Regions from separate parts of the Homo sapiens genome. Here region 1 is linked to region 2. The links are contacts of gene promoters, found by promoter capture Hi-C in blood cells and fetal thymus (Javierre and others, 2016). All regions are on one chromosome and are shown on one strand. The core of a region is centred on a gene start or on the middle of the fragment in contact, and the rest is flanking DNA. Distances in the headings are between cores, read along the strand shown. Region 1 has its middle 130 kb from the start of LINC00470. Region 2 holds the start of ADCYAP1 (adenylate cyclase activating polypeptide 1).

The links. The method cuts DNA at HindIII sites, captures the fragments that hold promoters and counts their contacts. A CHiCAGO score of 5 or more calls a contact.
Region 1: a fragment that was not itself captured here is called in contact with the fragment with the promoter of ADCYAP1 in region 2 in 1 of 17 cell types (endothelial precursors); the score reaches 5.4 in endothelial precursors.

What each region holds. Positions count from the first base shown.
Region 1 is chr18:1,491,334-1,497,865 of GRCh38, reverse strand. No RefSeq gene overlaps it. Among named protein-coding and RNA genes, the nearest start is that of LINC00470, 130 kb to the right of the region's middle. The HindIII fragment of the contact is 587 bases long and covers 1,252-1,838 here.
Region 2 is chr18:903,474-910,011 of GRCh38, reverse strand. ADCYAP1 (adenylate cyclase activating polypeptide 1) reads right to left here and starts at 5,141. Exons shown (of 5, transcript NM_001099733.2): 1 at 4,952-5,141; 2 at 4,516-4,626; 3 at 2,222-2,353; 4 at 1,649-1,747; 5 at 1-566. The coding sequence starts at 4,625. The coding sequence ends at 377. It overlaps LOC124904340 (a long non-coding RNA gene), which reads left to right and starts at 3,360. Exons shown (of 2, transcript XR_007066435.1): 1 at 3,360-4,930; 2 at 5,664-6,538. RefSeq lists enhancers at 131-852, 1,575-2,296. The HindIII fragment of the contact is 10,218 bases long and covers 1-6,538 here.

The DNA of each region.
Region 1 (6,532 bases), core at 296-2,795, 590 kb before region 2:
AAAACTGAGAAAAGAGAGCCAGGACCTGTCAGAGTGTCCATGGTAAGAAGCCAGGGTACAGAAAAGGAAAGCAGCAAGAGTCTGGCAAAGATCAGCCCCCAAGGAACTCAGAGCCCTCTGGGAAAAGTAGGTGGAAGTGCATCTCTGCTCCCCTCACCCCTGTGACGATCTGCTGACTACCAAAATCTGGAAACCCTCTGCCCTTGTGACCCAGGGCAATTCTATCAGTGGTGATTTGGAGACTACCCAAGAACAGAGAACTGGGTGGCCACCTCATGCAGGTGTGCCCGCACTTCCCTCAGACCCAAACTGAGACAGCAGCCACCATACTGGTTGTGGGCCACTGCTTTGCCCTGAAATTCTCTTCCCATGTGTCAGCACACCACCAGGTTCCCCATAAACATACCCCACAGACCTACTCCGACTTTAACAAGTAAAGGAAATGGGTCCCTGAGGAGGTGTTGGGACCCCAGTAAGTATAACTCTTGGCATGGGTCATCTCTAAGGGAGGGGGGAGCACAGCCAGCCAAAAACTCCTTGGGACAAAGGAAATATGGGTGCCGCGGCAATCACTGAAGGAGGCAGCACTAATGCCTGGGAAGAAACATGTAGAGGGGGTCATCTTCTGCTCACTCATCCACTATTGTGAACACAGCAGTGTTTCTTTGGAGGAAGCATATTTGCAATTTTTGCAATGGCCCCACCTATACTGAAAGTGAGCCCAGCCACTTGACTGTACACAAAAGCTGGATGGCAAATACCTCTCCCTAAACAGAGTGGCAGCATCCCAGCAACAGAGAATAGACAAGCTGCAGAATTGCCTGCTCCGAACTGGGAAAGAGGCTATGCCCTAAGTGCCCATTTTGGTGGTAGCCATGAGAAGACTGTATCTCTGGCCCACAGCCACACTGAAACCAAGAACCAAAGGACAAAGTGTTTATGAACTGCTGAAGGTCATGAGCCCTGTGACAAGGGCACGATAGGGGAGCAGATCAGTTCCTGCCAGCTCAGGATGAGGAGCTGTGCATCACCTCTCACTCCTTCCTTCAAGACCTTGGTGCATCCTAACATGATCTCTTCCCTCTACCCTCTCTCAGAACAAGTTCTTTCACAGCTCATCAGCCCGCCTGAGGGCAAGCCTGCTCTTACTTTTAAGGGCTACTACTTAATTGCAGCCTGAAGTGCACCATCAAACAGAACAAAACAAAAATTGCTGCCAGAAGGGCTTAGCGCTGGTCCCGGAGACAAGCTTCATGAGATCTCCACACCCTCAGCCTTGCAGGGGATAGTGTGTCAGCTCGAAGACTTAATACATCGCTGCAACAAGCAGCGACTAAGAAAGCTGCAGATGCTATCCACAACCATGGAACCCATAAAGAGCCTTGGCTCCCTGAACGCACACAGAAACAAAACAAAATGATCATACACATATATCACAGTCATACACTCAAGGGAAATATAAAAACACGAAAAAGTCCTATCCAAATGATAGCGAATTCAAAAAATTACAAGTGGCACCTCTCTAAGATGAGAAGGAATCACTACCAGAAATCTGGCAGTACAAAAAGCCAGAGTGTCTTGACACCTCTAAAGGATGGCACAGCTCTCCAGCATTGGATACTAACCAAGCTGAAAATTCTGAAATGACAGATGAAGAATTCAAAATACAGGTTTCAAGGAAACTAAATGAGATCAAAGAGAAAGTTGGAATCCAATACAAATAAACCATAAAAACGGTTCAGGACATGAAACACAAGATAGCTATTTTAAGAAAAAACCATATAGAACTTCTGGAACTGAAAAAGTTGCTAAAGAGATTTTAAAATAAGTTGGAAGCTTTAACAGTAGCCTAGGCCAAGCAGAAGAAAAATTTCATAACCTTAAGACCAGACATTTGAATTAACCCAATCAGACAAAAATAAAGGGAAAAGGATTTTTAAACCGAACAAGGCCTTTAAGAATATGGGATTATATAAGAACAACAAAATCTCCAGCTTATTGGCATTCCTGAGAGAGAAGAAGAAAAAGTAAGCAACTTGTAAAACATATTAAGAGAAACAATTCAGGAAAATCTCCCTAATCATGCTAGAGAAGTCAACATTCTGATACAAAAAAATTGAGAACACATGCAAAATACTATACAACATGACTGTCCCCAAGGAATATAGTCATCAGATTAACCAAAGTCAATGCAAAAGAAAAAAATCTTAAAGGCAGTTAGAAAAAAGGGTCAAATTACCTAGAAGGGAAATTCCATCAGACTGACAGCGGACTTCTCAGTGGAAACCTTACAATTAACAGGCGATAGAGGCCTATTTTTAGCCATTCTGAAGAAAAAAAATCTGCCAGCCAAAAATGTTATATCCTATCACACTAAGCTTCATAAAAGAAAAATAAAGTCTTTCCCAGACAAGTAAACACCAAAGTAATTCTTCAACAGAGCAGTCATAGAAGAAATGCTCAAAGAATTTCTGAACATGTAAACAAAAGAATGATACTTACTACCATAAAAGCACACATAAGTACAAAGTTCACAGAATCTATGAAGTAATTAGACAATTGAGACTAGAAAGCAACTCGCTAATGACACTAAGACGGGAACAAAACCTCACATACTAATATTAACCTTGAAAGTAAACACTCTAAATACCTCACTTAAAAGACATAGAGTGGCAAATTGACTAAAAAAAAGTAAGACCCAACTTTCTGATGCCTTCAAAGACTCATCTGATGCCTAATTACACCCACAGGCTCAAAGGAGAGGGATGGAGAAAGATCTATTATGCAATAGAAAACACAAAAGAGCAGGGGTAACTATTTTTGTATCAGATAAAACAGTCTTTAAACTACCAATAGTTAAAAAAAAAAAAAAAAAGGCAAAGAAGCCAGGCCCACTGGCTCGCACCTGTAATCCCAGCACTTTGGGAGGGAGGCTGAGGTGGGCAGATCACCTAAGGTCAGGAGTTTGAGACCAGCCTGGCCAACGTGGTGAAAACCCATTGCTACTAAAAATACAAAAATTAGCCCGTCGTGGTGGCAGGTGCTTCTAATCCCAGCTACTTTGGAGGCTGATGCAGGAGAATAGCTTGAACCCATGAGGCAGAGGTTGCAGTGAGCCGAGATCGCACCATTGCACTCCAGCCTGGACAACAGAGTGAGACTCCATCTCAAAAAAAAAAAAAAGACAAAGAAGGCTATTATAAAAATTAGAGAACCCAGACTCATAAATACCACTAGACCTAACAAAAGGGATAGACAGCCATTTGATAGTGGGGGACTTCAACACTCCACTGAAAGAACTAGACAAATAATTGAGGGAGAAAACTAACAAAAAATTTCTGGACTTCAATTGAACCTAATATACATTTACAGAATACTTCACCCAACAACCACAGAATATACACTTTTTCTCATCTATATGTGGAAAATTCTCTAAAATTGATCACATGCTTAGTCATGAAACAAGTCTCAATATAATCAAAATAACCAAAATCATATCAAGCATTGCCTCAGACCACAGTGAAGTGAAATTAGAAATCAATACCAAAAGGAACTCCCCAAACCACATAAGCACATGGAAACTAAACAACTTGCTCCTGAATGACTTTTGGATAAACAATGAAATTAAGGTAGAAATCAAATAAGTTATTTGGAAAAAAAAGATAGAAAGCTCCCAAATCAACAGCCTAATGTCTCACCTAAAAGAACTAGAAAAACCCAAACCAAACCCAAAGCTAGCAGAAGAAATGACAAAGATCACAGCAGAACTAAATGACACTGAGACCAAAAAGACCCATACAACTTTTCATTTTGTTGATTATACAATCAAATTATTGATTATTATATCAATAATTTATATAATTTATTTGGATAATAACAAATTATTATAAAAATAATCAGCAAAATGAAAAGTTGGTTCTTTGTGTCCAGGTGCAATAGTTCATACCTGTAATCCCAGGACTTTGGGAGGCCGAGGTTGAAAGATCACTTCAGCCCAGGAGTTCAACACCAGCCTGGGCAACATGGTGAAACCCCATCTCTATTTTTTTTTAAGTTGCTTTTTTGAAAGAATAAACAAAACTGATAGACCACTAGCTAGATTAACCAAGAAAAAAGAGAGGCAATTCAAATAAGCACAATCAGAAATGACAAAAGTGGCATTACAACTGATACTGCAGAAGTATGAAAGATTCTCACGAACTACTATGAACATCTCTATGCACACAAACTAGAAAACTAGAGGAAATGGATAAATTCCTGGAAACATACAACCTCCCCAGAGTGAGCCAGAAAGAAATGAAAATCCTGAACAGACTGATAATGAGTTATGAAATTGAATTCGTAATAAAAAATCTACCAAACAAAAAAACCCAGGGCCAGACTGATTCACAGCCAAATTCTACAAGACATACAAAGAAGAGATTCTACCAATCTTACTGAAATTATTCAGAAAATCTAGGAAAACATGTTCCTCCCTAATTCACTCAACAAAACCTGTATCATCCTGATACCAAAATATGGCAAAGACAAGAAGAAGAAAGAAAACTGCGGGCCAATATCCTTGATGAATATAGTTGCAAAAAATATATAAAAATATTAAAAGATAATTCATCATGAACAATTGGGTTTTATTCCTGGGATGTGAGGATCAACACATGCAAATCAATAAATGTGATTCACCACATAAACAAACTAAAAAGAAAACCATATGCTTATCTCAATAGATGCAGAAAAATCACTCAATAAAATGTAACATCTCTTCATGATAAAAACCTTCAACAAACTAGTCATTGGAAGAACATACCTAAAAATAATAAGAGTCATGTATGGCAAAACCACAGCCAACATCACGATGATGGGCAAAAGTTGAAAGCATTCCCCTGAGAATTAGAACAAGACAAGGATGTCCACTCACCACTTCCATTTATCATAGTACTGGAAGTCAAAGCTACAGTAATTAGCCAACAGAAATAAAAGTCATCCAAATAGGAAAAAAGGAAGTCAAATCATTTGTTTGCTCATGACATGATTCTATACCTAGAAAACCCTAAAAATTTCTCCAAAAGACTCCTAGATCTGATACAACACTTCAATAAAGTTTCAGTATATAAAATCAATGTACAAATATCAGTAGCATTTCTAAACACTAGTAATATTCACACTGATAACCCAATCAAGAACCTTATTTCATTTATGACGGGCACAAAAAGGTAAATCACAGGTGCAACAAACAAATGGAAAAACACTTCATGCTCATGGATTGAAAGAATCAATATCATGAAAATGACCATACTGCCCAAAGCAATCTATAGATTCCATGTAATTCCTATCAAATTCCCAGTCTCATTTTTCACAAGATTAGACAAACAATCCCAAAATTCATTTAGAACCAAAAAAGAGCCTGAATAGTCAAAGCAATCCTAAGCAAAAATAACAAAGCTTTAGGCATCACATTATCTCACTTTAGACAATACTACAAGGCTTTGGTAACCAAAACAACATAGTACTGATACAAAAATAGACAGATCAATGGAACAGAATGGAGAACCCAGAAATAAAGCCACACGTCTACAATGAAGTTAACTTAAACAAAGTTGACAAAAGTAAACAATGGGAAAAGAATACTTTATTCCATAAATGATGCTGGGAAAACTGGCTATTCATAGGGAGAAGAATGAAACTGGACCGCTGCTTCTTGCCATATACAAAAATTAACTCAAGATGGATTAAAGGCTTCAATGTAATACCTGAAGCTATAAAATTCCTAAAAAGAAAACCTACAAAAAACTCTTCTAGACCTTGGCTTAGGCATAGAATTTATGACTAAGACCTTAAAAGCAAATGCAACAAAAACAAAAATAGACAAATGGAACTTAATTAAACTAAAAAGCTTCTACACAGCAAAAATGTTTTAAAAATCAACAGAGTAAACAGATAACATATAGAATGGGAGAGAATATTTGCAATATGCATTCAACAGAGGACTAATATCCAGAATTTATAAGGAATTTAACTCAACAAATAAAAAAACCATTAAACCATGGGCAAAGGAGATGAACAGACACTTTTCAAAAGAAGACACACACACAGCCAACAAATGTGAAAAAATGCTCACCATCACTAATCATCACAGAAATGCAAATCAAAACTACAATGAGATACCATCTCATACCAGTCAGCCAGGCTATTATTAAAAAGTCAAAAAAAAAAAAACCCAAAAAACAACAACAACAGATGCTGATGAGGATGTGGAGAAAAGGAAGCACTTATACGCTGTTGGTAGGATTGTAAATTAGTTCAACCCCTATGGAAAACAGTATGGAGATTTGTTAGAGTACTAAAAATAGAACTACCATTCCACTCAGCAATCTCACTACTGGGTATCTACCAAAATGGAAAGAGATAGTTTTATCAAAACAAACAAACAAAAAAACCCACTTGTATTCATATGTTTATTAAATCACTATTCACAATAGCAAAGTCATGGAATCAACCTAAATATCCATCAACAGTGGATTGGATAAAGAAAATG
Region 2 (6,538 bases), core at 3,892-6,391:
AAAACAATGATTGTCTACTTTTCTATTTATTTTTATAAAAACATAAACAGCTCGGGCGAATTTTCAATCCTTGTGCACGCTTTGTATGAACTTCTCTCTATACTTTATATATATATATATATATATATATATATATATTCTTTATATATATTTATAATATATATCAATAATTGGTCCACAAAGTATATCTGTGCATTCTCTAGTGCTTTGTAGAAAGAAAAACAATATTATTATCAAAATATTCATTTAATGGCTTTACTTCATTACATAAATACATGTTTGGATAGAACACACGAGCGATGACTGTTGAGTCAGTTTGGAAAACGACTTTTCATTGCGTCAGGGCTGTATACACAGGGTAGCTGGTAACCCATCGCTACAAATAAGCTATTCGGCGTCCTTTGTTTTTAACCCTTTGTTTATACCTCTTCCCTAGGACGGCCGCCAAGTATTTCTTGACAGCCATTTGTTTCCGGTAGCGGCTGTAGCTGTCCGTGAAGATCCCGTCCGAGTGGCGCTTGGAGAGCGGCTCCGCGTCGTCCCCCGCGCCGCCGCCGAGGCTCCCACTGCAAGCAAAGGGGTCGGGAAGAGGGTGGCGGGGCGGGAGACACAGGTTCAATCGCCGCGGGGAGCAGGCGGGCCCCACCCCACGCGGGAGCCTTCGGGGAGGGCCCGGGGCTCGCACTGCCCACCGCGTCGCCCGCCTCTGCCTGGAAGCAGCCGTGGGGAGGGCCGAGACGGCAGCCCCTCGATGCCCCCCTCCCCACGCAGGATCTCCTGGCACCAAACCCTGCGGAGGGGGCCCGGGATAAGATCCGGGCAGGCGACGCGCGCTTCAAGCCTAACCTTTCTCCCAGCGCTGCCCCCTTGAGATCCGACCCTTCGTGTGTTTGCGCTAAATTGTCCTCGCTGTTCCTCTCACCCGCGACATACAGAGAAAGTAACCGGAGAGCCCTACATATGCCAGTCTGGCTGCTGCCCTGGAGTTTGCATCGATCCTGCAATTCCTAGTCAAATATGAACACTCCTCTCCCTCCTCACGCCGAGTTGAAAAACGTGATAATAATATAAGTCGACAGGCTGTAGGCAATATTTTTCACTGCATGACTTATTCATGGCGAAAATGTAATCTGTTTTCCCACGGGCTTTATTAGAATGTTGCCTTCTGCCGAGATAGGCTTCACACAAGCCCTGTGCTCTCAGTTTCTCTGGCGTGAGCAAAACTGTTTGGGTCCATAAGTGTCCACATTTGGCCATTTATTATTTCGATTTGAATTTTCAGTAAATACAACCACCCCTTTCCCCTCCCCCAGAAACAGTCATGCTTAGAGAAAATTATAGCAAAACCTCCCTGGAAGCCTGAAGGTTTTGGATGACTGAGAGGTTTGGTTTGGTTTCTCTTTCTTTTCATTCAAAACGGATCAAACTCCCTGGCTCGCGTTCCCTTTTTGCCTCTTCCAGAGCTCTCTGGGCAAATTTAAAGTGCCACTTCAAAATCTCCAACTGCGACCCGTGGCGGATGCCCACCCCAGACCCAGGGGCGCAGACTCACCCTGGCCCCCACGGGCACCCACCGCCGCCCGCCCCGCGCGCCCCGCACAGGCACCCACCCCGGCGCGCGCAGGTTAATCCTTCCACAAACTCTTACCCCACGCCCCGGGCCACGAGCGACTGCAGGTGCTTCCCGGCGGACAGCTGGTCCAGCACTTTGCGGTAGGCCTCGTTAAGGATCCCGTGGGCGACATCTCTAACGGGGAGGCAAAGTGCGCGCCCAGGGTCACTGTTTCTGTCCCCAGGTGGCCGCTAGAGACCCCCTTGTTGGGCGCGCGCCCCCTCGGCGGCCGGGGAGGCTGACAGGGAAACCTCCAGAGGCCCAGAACTCGCCAATAACTCCCGGGATGATCTCGAGAGCAACTGCTAGGATCGGGAGCTAGTCCCGGCTCTAGGAGTGGCAGATGCGGAGTGTGGGTTCCTTGACGCCACTCACTGCCACTCTTTGGGCCACAGCCCCCCTCGGTCCCCACGCGGCCCTCAGGTCCACACAGACCCGCCCGCTGCTGATTTTCTGTCGCTGCAATAGGATCGGGCCAGGGAGAGGACAGGCTTGAGGACTTTCACGGGAAAAAAAAAAAAATCCTGGGTGGGTCACCACACTGCCCCTCCCGTCACCGCAGTCCCGAGCTCCCAGCCGCGGGTGTGCGCGAGGCCGCGCGAATCTCACCTTCTCCCGGCCGGGCGGTACCAGGCGGCGGCGGCGCGCGGCGCGGAGGCGGGGCTCCCTGCGCCCGGCGGCTCCGAGCCATCGAAGTCTGGCAGCGGGTTTCCGTCCTCGCCGTACGCCTCTTCCTCTGGCCTGCGGGGTGGCCGGGGACAGAAGGTGTGGTCAGTGCAAGTTCCTCCCCAGCTCGGCGAGGATCCAAAGTAAGGGGCTCGCGCGGATTTTCACAGGTGATAAAAGTCCTCCGCTGAGAATTGTCTCTTCTCCCAGGACTGGGGGTGGGAGCAGAGGTAAGGAGGAGGCAACGACACCCAACCACTCCTACCCCGCCGGGCGGCCCGCCCACCCCCCCTTCGCGGGTAAAGGGTCGTCCTGCGGGCCACGGCCTCAACAAGCGCTGGGAAACCGAGGCGTCTCCGCCGATCGCGCACACCTGTCTACGGAAAAGGACCGCCCCCCTCCCCGCCTGGCTCCCGAGCCTCCCCAAAGCAGCAACGGGCGGGGACGAGAAAGGCCCTGGGAGACCGGGCGCTGACCCACGCGAAGACCCGAATGGGGAGGCCCAGAAAGCAAAGGAGAGGATGCGTGGGGCGTGCGGGGGCCAACTCCTCAGCCACCCCCACCCCAGCCTCCGAGCCCAGGGGAGCCCTTCTCCGAGCAGATGTAGGTCACGGAGAACCTCGGTTTCTATTTTGGGCAGGCGAGGATCTGGCAGGAACATGAATAATAAATGCCCCTAAACTTAGCCAGTTCGGCGGCGGCTCAGACTGTGGCGCGTCCGCACCCTCCGGTGCTTCTCGCACGGAGAAAGTGCCAGGCACACGGGAACTTGAAAATAGCTGAGGGTGAAACCAGGGTGTTTTAAGGCCACTAAACGAATAGTTCGCGCTGATCTGTTATCGATGGCGGTGCCCCATCTCAACCCCAGAGCACGAGGAGGGGGACCGAGATCCAGCGAGTGCCTGGCGACTTCGCAGTCGCCCTCTACAGCCTCCGTTCTTGACACAGGACGGGTAGAGATGGGTTAAAACAAATCCCTCTCGCTTTGGACCCCTGGAGAGACTTGGCGTGCAGCCAGCGCTAGTAGCACTCTCTGGGCGGGGTTGGAGTCGTACTTCGCTGCTTCACTCGCCTTTTCTCCATCCTTGGAGAGGCCCGGGCAAGGCAAGCGCATCATTCCGCACGCCTCGCACCCAGCCTTTGCTCGGCGATGCGCCTCAGCCCTGGCCCGGGTACCCCGAACCCTGGGGTCTTTCTGGATATTGCCCTGCCTCGAGCCCAGATGCTGGAATCCTAATACAGAACCCAGAACCCATCTCTCCGTCCAAATCAATGATCAGCGGCCCCCCAGAGCTAATGTTCCTGGGCGGGGCTCGGAGAAGGCAGCTTCGCAGGCAGAACGCGCGCTCCTCGCTGCCCCAGGCGCCGCTGGTACGAACCCTCCCCTACCCAGGGCTCATCCACAGCCTGGCACATCGGTCCGCGACTCTGGGGCTGCCTCCGGGAACCTGGGCCGCGCCTGCCGGTTAGAAACCCGGGGTTAAGAAAAAAGCCAAGGTTCCTCCATCCCGGGCCAGGCAGGGCTGCTCTCCCGGTCCTGCCTGCCTGCTGGCTTTCCCTTCCTCCTCCTTTGCGCCTGTTTTTCCCCCTCCTTCGCAGTCTCGTCCTTGTTCTTCCCTCTCTTAAGTCGCTTTTCCTCAATCACACCGGGCCAACACCCTCCCCACCGCACGCCCCCCAAGACAGCCTGGGATTCAAAATGCAGTTGGAACACGGATCACTTGAAAGAAAGCTCTTCAGGGGAAAGAATTGGAATGAAATGAAAAGAAAGGGTGGAGGAGAGAGAGAGACCCCACCCGGATAGTCCAGAACAAGCAGTAACAAAGCAAAGTCCGAGGGAGCTTCACGCTCAACCCCCGGCCAGGCTCCAGAGCTGAAGTTCTCCTAACTCGTCCCAAGAATAGGTAAAAGAAACCAAGCTAGGGGCCGTGCCCTGCCCCCATCCTGTGGGCCGGGTTGGGGGAGGGGGGGTTCTCCAGCGGCCAGAAGCTCACTGGCTCTACCCGGGACCCTGAGCTGCCTAGGGCTGGGGGAGGCGTCCGAGCAGTCGCGGAGCCTGCCAGACCCTCGGCTAGAATGGGGACCCGCTGTCCAGCCGAGGCTGGCGGAGGCGCACCGGGGGCGCAGAGGGCGATGCTAGTAGTCTGGACCCAAAGGACTGCAGGAAGGAGACCGTGAGGAAGCGTCTGTGCCTGGGAAGCCCCAGCTCCTGCTTGGGCCAGGCAGCCAGCACCTACCTGATCCCGGGGAACCGGAGTCCGGCGGCGGCAGGTGAGCTGTAGACGCTGCTGTGCATGATTATCCCATAGACCAGCAGGGCCAGCCTCGCTCCGCTACACATGGTCATTCTGCGCAGGATGGGAAAGAGGACACACAGCTGTGAGAACGCCCCTGGCCTCCCACCCTCCAACCCCAAAAAGCTCTGGAAGCCGGGGGAGGGACGGAGCGAAGCCCCGGCTCCCTGAGTTGAACAGCACTTGGCGACAGCCGGTGCGCGCCCTGCCACTTCTTGCTTGCTATAGTTAGAAAAAAATATATATATATGCATCTACCCGGCGCCCAATAACTAGCCAGACCCGGCTGAAGGAAAGCTAACTCCCCTGACGCGATGCCAAGCGAAAGAATCAGCAGTCGAGTGAGCCGGTCGCTTTGGTAAGATTTTCCCTCCCTTACCCTTCAACTCCTCCCGCTGCCAGGAGAGCTGCCAGGTAGGACGGCGGGCAAAGCGCTTCTTCAAGTTCCTGCGCTGGAGTCACCACCCGAGAGGCATCGCCGTCTGGCGTTGGTGTCTGAGCAGAAGCCGCAGGAACCAGCGGGAGCAGCAGGAGGAGCTGCGGGACTCGTTTGCCGAGGCTCGTGTTCTGCTCAAAAGTTTGTAGACGCGCAGAACCAGGAGGGAGCGTGACACGGAGAGAAGGGGGCGCAGAGAGAGAGGCAGAAGAAAGAAAGAGGGGGCGATGAGGTGAAGCGCGGAGGAGCAAGGTGGCCGTAAGTCCACCCGGAGGAAGAAGCAGGCGATTAAGGGAAAGAGGGAAAGTCAGAAAAGAAGGGGAGGAAGGCAAGGGAGAGGGCGGGCGGCTAGCCCGCCTTTGTAGGAGCCGCGGGCCAGGCAGCCGCGAGGGTCGGCGGCGCCTTCTCTGCTCCGAGGTCTCTCCGGCTGCCTCTGAAGCTGCGGCTTCTGCTGCTGCTACCGCTGGTTACAGAGGTGACCGGCCTTCTGCTCCTATTTATCTGTGCAGTTCGCAAAAATCTATCCGAACATGGTTTTTGGAGAGCCCTCTTTGTCAACATCTGCCTGCCTGTTGCCTTTAAGTACAGAATATTTTGTTGCACTGTTGCGCTCCGATTTTTATTCATGAAATGACTTCCTTTTTTTTTTTCTCAGTCACGTAATGATCGGGTATCAGAAAAAGACGTCAGCATCCTAGTCCCTCAAGGAACATATTAACTATTCTGTGCTGTCCTCTTGGATGATAAGATCCGGAGTCATCGACTTCTCATAAACACCTTTCACTCATACAATCCAATTTTTAAGAAGTCCAATTGTTTTGATGGTTTTCAATTTCACCCGTTTCTCAAGGACAGGTAAAGAATTTTTAGAATTTTGAGGATGACAAAAGTTATGTTTTTAACTATATAATTACGATTTCTCTTTACTTTTTCATCAAGCCTCACCAATCAGAGCTCTGGTCTCTGGAATTAAGCATCATCAAGCTCTCCTATTAATAAATTTAATTTAGATCTCCTAATTTCTTGCGTATGTTCTTTCAGATAGACCATTAAATGTGGAAGTCGTTTTGTTTTTAAAGGGAAGTCTTGGAGGATTTTCAGTAAATCTCTCCTGAGTCTGGCTGCCGTTGACAGTAGGGCTATGAGTAGATTGATGAGAGCTCATGCTGCCTCCGGAGCGCGGCCTGCGGAGCTGTCCAGACTCCGGGTGCTGAAGTGTAGGGTAACAGATGCTACAAACGTTGAAAATTGCCACCGGTTTAATTTTTCACCAGAGCCTCTAAATTTGAAGATTTGGCAGTAGTGCTATTAACGTGGCGATTCATCGCCTAAATCACCCCCACCGTTCAGATACATCCTTTCCCTCTTGTAGCGTCCATAAATGCCCTAATGCTGAGAATGCTCCCCATCCCTGCCTGGATTTGAGGAAAAAGCATTCTGTCCCCCGTTAGTCCTGGCTTTTGGATTTCTAGACCGGCTGTTTGGCTACTTTCACACCTTCTGTGGCTCTTACAGATTTTAAAAATTGAT